Regions from separate parts of the Homo sapiens genome. Here region 2 is linked to region 1. The links are contacts of gene promoters, found by promoter capture Hi-C in blood cells and fetal thymus (Javierre and others, 2016). All regions are on one chromosome and are shown on one strand. The core of a region is centred on a gene start or on the middle of the fragment in contact, and the rest is flanking DNA. Distances in the headings are between cores, read along the strand shown.

Region 1 (3,488 bases), core at 776-3,275:
TTTTGCATTCATGTCTCACAAAGGAGTAGTGGTGGAGGTTTTTTAAAAATTTTTTTTGAGATCACTCTGGAGCGCAGTGGCAGGATCTCCACTCACTGTAATCTCCGCCTCCCTGGTTCAAGCCATTCTCGTGCCTCAGCAAACCGAGAAGCAGCTGGGATTATAGGTGCCCACCACCATGCTTGACCAATTTTTGTATTCTTAGTAGAGACAGGGTTTCATCATGTTGGCCAGGCTGGTCTCGAACTCCTGGCCTCAAATAATCTGCCCGCCTCAGCATCCCAAAGTGCTGGGATTACAGGCATGAGCCACCAGCCCGGCCAGTATACGCTTTGCTTTCTGCGCACAGTTCCTGCTATGAGACTCTCAGTCACTAAACAGGTCTAGTTTCTAGAAAATGCCCACCTTTCACTCTTGTAATATCAGTTTTCTGCTAATGGGCTAGGCCCCAGAAGGACTTCCAAGAAGAGCCCAAGGCACAGAAAACCGAGGGTAAATAATAGGATACAAAGTGACAAGGCTTTAACAGAGGCCTGCCCAAGCATTAGCTCAACTCGCTGTGAAAGCTTGGCAAATGTATCACTGAGAAGATGGGAACATTTGAAATACCCGTCCTTTAAGAATAAGTAGGGGTTCGGCTGGGCGCGGTGGCTCACGCCTGTAAGGCCAGCACTGTGGGAGGCCGAGGCGGGCGGATCACCTGAGTTCCGGAGTTCGAGACCAGCCTGGCCAACATGGTGAAACCCCATCTCTACTAAAAATACAAAATCAGCTGGGCGCGGCGGCGAGTGCCTGTAATCCCAGCTACTCGGGAGGCTACGACAGGAGACTCTCTTGTACCTGGGAGGCGGAGATTGCAGTGAGCCGAGATCGTGCCACTGCACTCCAGCCTGGGAGAAAGAGGAGACAGAGCAAGACTCCATCTCAAAAAAAAAAAAAAAAATTAGTTCATGGGCGAGGTGGCTCACGTCTGTAATCCCAGCACTTTGGGAGGCCGAGGCGGGTGGATCACTTGAGATCAGGAGTTCGAGACCAGCCTGACCAACACAGTGAAATCCCCGTCTCTACTATAAATACAAAAATTAGCTGGGCCTGGTGGCGGACGCCTGTAATCCCAGCTACTTGGGAGGCTAAGGCGGGAGAATCGCTTGAACCCGGGAGGCAGAGGTTGCAGTGAGCCGAGATTGCGCCAATGCACTCCACCCTAGGCGACAACGCGAGACTTCATCTCAAAAGAAAAAGAAAAAAAAAGAATTAGGGGTTCTCCACGTGCAGCTGGGAAAGACGTTCCAACAATCCTCATTTGTACCAGGCCCTTTGGTGGGCCAGTCCCTTAGGGCATCTCTAATGCTCCTAATGTCCATCCTAGAAATTCAGGGAGGGAAAGAAAGTGCTGGGGCGAGCATGGGTCAGGAGAGAATAGGGTCAGGATTTAGGGCCCTGAAGAAGCCTCGGGCAAACTCTTTGGACAGACAGACCTTCCAAGAGGGCCCTCAGGCTCCGCACGTGGTCTGGGCGGGAAGTGCGGGCAGAGAGACTAGGAAGCCTTCCCAGCAGCGCCGGCGGACCGGGGCAAGGAAAGGGTCGAATAGTTACCATGCCATTCTGGGGCCGTCCCTCTGATTGGCCCGAGCTCCCTCAGCCCGAGTCGCGGCGCTCCAAGGAAGGGGGCGGAGTCTCTATGTTGCGTCACCACCCTTCCCGACACCCCGCCGGTGCTTCCCAATCTAGCCATTCACAAGCCCACTTCGAGAGGCCCTGTGTGACGTCACGACACGCTCCCGCCAACCGCGGCGGCGAGGGGCGGGACTCCACGGCCCTCTCACCGCTCCTACCCTGTGCCTCCCCGAACTCCTTCTGCCCCTCCTCTTCCCTCTCGCCCCTTCCCCCTTCAGTTCGGTTTCAAAAGACGCGTTGCCCAATGAATAACAGGGTCGACCCAGAGTGGCGGCCGCGTCCACCAATTCGCGGACGGCGAGGGCGGAGCGTCCGCAACGAGCCTCTGACGCCGGGCGGCGTGTGACGCAGTCGGGCCCTCTGCGCGCTGCGCCCGAAGCGGCGGTCGGTGGCAGGGGTGGTAGCGGCGGCGGCGACGGTTTCGTGGGGGCCGCGCGCTGCTCTGTGAGCGGCGGGTGGCAGCAGGGGACTCCTGACACTTCCCCTTCCCCACCGAACCGCGGTAAGTCGGGAGCCCGAGCTGCAGCGGCCGAGACCGGCAGGTTTCTCCCCCCTTCCGGGCGGGCGGACGCGCGGGGCGTCTCAGGGCCTCTCCGCTTCGAAGTCTAGCGCCGCTGCGCGCACCTTCTGGCCTGAGAGAGGGGCGGTGCTGAGGACCCGGGGGCCCGGAGCCCGGGAGGCCCGGCTTTGGAGGCCCTGGGAGAGAATGGACATCAGTGGGGTCTAGGCCTGGAGGTCTCCAGTTGCTGCCCACGCGAGTGGGTGTCTGTCTGGTTGTACTCATTCATTCAGTGGTGTAAGGACCCCACGGTGGGCTGGCCTTTCCGGGGTCAGCGCCTTGAAACCCTGAATACGGTCTGCCCCGCACTTCCTTGACCGTCATGTGGGACTGGGCTTTATTTGCCTTGGCTTCTCCATAAGGGAAGTGGGCACCCCGAGGATTAGGGTGAGTCCGAAGTTTGGGAGATTTTTAAGATAATATCTGAGAATAGGAGTCGGTTCGGTGGAGCAAAAGGTTCTTTTCTATTTTCCCACGTGTTCAGTGTAAAGCCAGATGAGGAGACAGATTGAGTTTCTGGATTACTATAGCCATAAGGACTTTAGAAATTGTTTAAGTCAATCCCCCTACCTTACATCAGTTTTGTAGATGGGGAAACCGAGGCCCGGAGTAACAGGCAGGATTAGCCAATGCCAGATTTTTGACAGTCTAAACAGTTTTCTACTACCTCACCCTCCCTGGATATTTCAGTCTCCCATTATTAAGAATTCCCTTTAGGAGGTCGGTGCGGCATGGACATTAGGTAGCTAAACGTAGATGTAGTCTTCACAGCGTTTTCCGTTTAGTTGCTACCAGCTCTGTTCACGGGTAAGGTGGAAGCTTCGTTAGTGGTACCCTAACCTAGAGCTTGAGAACTAAACTTAGAAGATGGTTAAAGAACGTCAGCGTTGTTATGTATCGGAAACAAATCGGTAAAACTACAAGCCATTGTTTCCCTTTCTAAATCTGAATTTTTTGACTTGTGTCAGCTGATGAGGACTCGGAGTCAGTTAGGGATTTATAACAGTACTGGAATAGAAAGCAGGAAATATTGATAAGACTTAGAAAGCCAGGTAGGAGTCCGTTTGTAGTAGTTGTACCTCGGAACTCATGGCTCCTTTCAGGTACAGAATTCAAAGTGAAGTATTATAGTAGAATAAGGTGAGGAAATAAAACTCCGTTTTGGAGGAAGAAGCTAACTGGAATAAAGAGCAAAAAGAGAGCAGTGATCATTCCCTGTGACGGTCTTACAAATTCGAAAAGAAACTCGAGT
Region 2 (3,437 bases), core at 638-3,137, 340 kb before region 1:
AGTATAAAATAAAATAAAACAATAATATTAAAATAAAATAAAATACATTCCTGGCCAGGCACAGTGGCTCACACCTGTAATTCGAGCACTTTGGGAGGCCGAGGCAGGTGAATTGCTTGAGGCCAGGAGTTTGAGACCAGCCTGGCCAACATGGCAAAACCCCATCTCTAATAAAAATACAAAAATTAGCCAGGTGTGTTGGCACACACCTGTGATCCTAGCTACTCAGGAGGCTAAGACATGAGAATCACTTGAACCCAGGACAGAGGTTGCAGTGAGCCAAGATCATGCCGCTGTACTCCAGCCGGGGCAACAGAGTGAGTCTCTGTCTCAAAATACATACATACATACATAAAATAAAATACATTCCCATGAACCAGATCAAACTTTTTTTAAACTTGGAATTCTATCTCCTCTAGGAGTACTCTCAAAAATGCTTTGTGAGTCAGACAGAAATATCCTGTTCTTTTCACTCCTAAAACAGGCTTATCTCTTTGGAAAGGTCAAACATTTTTATTCTTTTGTCTTTGTTTTTATGCATATGACTTCCAGGTTTGCCCAAGACAATATGTCTGCCTTAGGTTATAACTGTTTAGAGAGCTAGACTGTGTCTCTGTGTAACAACAGACTATAAGACTTCAAAGATAAAGATCATCATCTTCTATTCAGTATCCTCAGTCCTGGCACATACTAGATGTTCAATAAATGTTAAATTAAAAAACAAATTTATAATTCTACTTAAATACCCAATACATTATCAGGGAATAAGAACATAATCCAAAATCACCAGACTTTACAGCTGGCAACGACTAGCTAAGTAAGCTGGCTTTCACTTTATAAAGTGAGAAAACAATGGATGTTTTTGAATAGCGGGTTGACGTGTGCAAAGTTTTATCTGAGGAATGGTGGTAATGCACACAAAATGGCTGGGAGCAGAGATCCTAGAAGCAATAAGGTCAGTTTAGAATAACAGCAGCAGAAAAGGAAGGAAGATATTTAAGAAATAATACAAAGGAACAATCAACACAACTTGGTAATTGTACGGACAGTAAAGGAAGGAAAGCATCACAGGTAACTACAAGGTTTCAAACCTAAGAAGGAAATAAACCTAACAGAAACAAGAAAATCCAAGGCAAGACCCTGTTCTGGTACAAAAACCATGGGTTGGTTTTAACGTTCTGGATTTGAACTTAAAGAACTTCTAGGTGATAATATTTAATAGGTGGCTAAAACATAAAATCATTCCAATGCCAAAATATCTCAAGCTGGCAATTAAGTACTCCTTGATATTCTCTACCAACCTGCTTCCAGCCGTAGAAGTGCATACTAGTGAGTTTGCCATAGTTAGGCTCAGCAATGTGGATGTTCAAAGATTGGCTTTGATCAATGAAAGCACCTCTCTCAGCTGCCATCTTGAGAACAGTTTTCTGAGAGATTTCCCACACAGTTTTATAAAGTTGCTTCAGGTCATCAGGAATTTCTGGTATGCTCTAAAGAAGGAAAACCCAATGTTTACTTTACTCCAGTTAAAGAAAGCAGTGTATGATTAATAGAATAGTGACACAAGCTTTGATCTTCATTTTACTTCCTGCCAGATCTGACCTTACCATTCAGTATCATATGATATGATCCTTATCAAGTTTACCAAGACTATTTAGAAAGTTGAACAAAACCCCCATCTAACCAACCAAATATCAATCTGGTGATAGTAATTTCAGCATCCCTTTTTTGTTGGTCATAAACCAATTTTTTAATTTTTTAATTGATTTATGACCCAAACATTCATTCTTCTAGAGGCACTTAAAGAAAGGAAAAGTCAGAGCTAAGCAGCAATAAATGACCCTTGAGTTTTGCAGAAAACACAAAAAATAAGGGCTGTAATTCACAGGGACCAAGGGAAGCAATGAGATAAAACCCTTTAAATAAGCTAGGATTTCAAACTCCCTTTGGAATCCAAAATCAGGTTTTCTTAGGCCTAGGGTTAACTTTCATTAAAACACACAGACTGGCTAATGCTACAGTTTCTGTCATTAAATATGGAACTGTTATAGGACTCTTCATCTGTGTTGCTAAGCAGACCAACATTTAGCCAGACACCTCTATCTGCAAATAAATGCCTCTTGACTCTTAGTTGCAAATATTTACACGATTTGTGACTCTGTCTTTTGGACTATCAGTCGTCAACCATGATTTTTAATTAAGCTTGACTCTCTTAATTTCAGTCTTTCTATCTATGATCCCCCAAATTTTGATATACTTTGGAATCACCAAAAGAATCTTTAAAAATTATTGATGTCTGAGGCCAGGCACGGTGGCTCATGCATGTAATCCTAGCACCCTGGGAGGCCAAGGCAGGCGGATCACCTGAGGTCAGGAGCCTGGCCAATATGGTGAAACCCTGTCTCTACTAAAAATACAAAAAACAGCCGGGCGTGGTGGCAGGCACCTGTAATCCCAGCTACTTGGGAGGCTGAGGCAGGAGAATCGCTTGAACCTAGGAGGCAGAGGTTGCAGTGAGCCATGATTCCACCACTGCACTCCAGCCTGGGCGACAGAGACTTCGTCTCAAAAAAAAAAAAAAAAAAAAAAAATTGATGTCTGGTTCCTGTTCCTAGACATTTAATTGGTAAGGAATGCAACCTAAGCTTCAGGATTTTAAAAGCTCCCCAGTTGATTCTAAGATGCAGAAAAATTGAGAACTACTTTTTTATATTATTGCATAAAAACAAGATGGTAAGGGTTATGTAAAGATGTGTACAATCCTAGCACAACAATGCAGAGGTGAACAGAGCTACACAAGCAAAACCTAGATGAACACAATGAAGTCATTCTCTCCATTGTCTAGCATGAGTGAGGAGGTACCACAATGTCCAACTCAGCCCCTGCAGAGCACACTTCATTTTCATTCTATACCTGAATAGAGCCATTGCATGCAATAATCTGGTTTTTCATCTCTTCATGCCATAGGCCCCGCTCGGTAAGATCTTTCAATAAGTGAGGATTTACAATCTGAATGGAAAAGCAGAAAATGTATGAAGAAATAAATAACAGTGACTGCTTAGAAAAGACTACAGCTTTGAAGCTTAAACTAAAATCACTTAAGAGTTATTTAATGCTAGATTGCTTGGTAAATTCTATCTTTTATAAAGACGAGACATCAATGCCACCACACGAAAGCTATATTCCTTTAAGATCTTGACATCTGTTATTCAAGAAACAATATAATTAGCCAGGCATGGTGGCGCAGCATGCCTGTAATCCCAGCTACTCAGGAGGCTGAGGCATGAGAATTGCTTGAACCCAGGAGGCAGAGGCTGCAGTGAGCCAAGATCATGCCACTGCACTCCAGCCTGGGTGACAAAGTGAGACATTTTCTCAAAAACAGTATCGACAACAAAAACATTGTGGTGTGGTAATCGTTATATAATATATACACA

What was found. The method cuts DNA at HindIII sites, captures the fragments that hold promoters and counts their contacts. A CHiCAGO score of 5 or more calls a contact.
Region 2: a contact is called between a fragment that was not itself captured here and the fragment with the promoter of NUP98 in region 1, in 4 of 17 cell types (total CD8 T cells, total CD4 T cells, naive CD4 T cells and 1 more). The highest score is 7.7, in total CD8 T cells.

Annotation. Positions count from the first base shown.
Region 1 is chr11:3,796,091-3,799,578 of GRCh38, reverse strand. NUP98 (nucleoporin 98 and 96 precursor) reads left to right here and starts at 2,025. Exons shown (of 33, transcript NM_016320.5): 1 at 2,025-2,179. It also overlaps a transcript of PGAP2 not described here. RefSeq lists silencers at 2,009-2,178, 2,259-2,348. The HindIII fragment of the contact is 2,489 bases long and covers 569-3,057 here.
Region 2 is chr11:4,133,135-4,136,571 of GRCh38, reverse strand. RRM1 (ribonucleotide reductase catalytic subunit M1) reads right to left here. Exons shown (of 19, transcript NM_001033.5): 17 at 2,914-3,009; 18 at 1,302-1,490. Among named protein-coding and RNA genes, the nearest start is that of RRM1, 40 kb to the right of the region's middle. The HindIII fragment of the contact is 635 bases long and covers 1,570-2,204 here.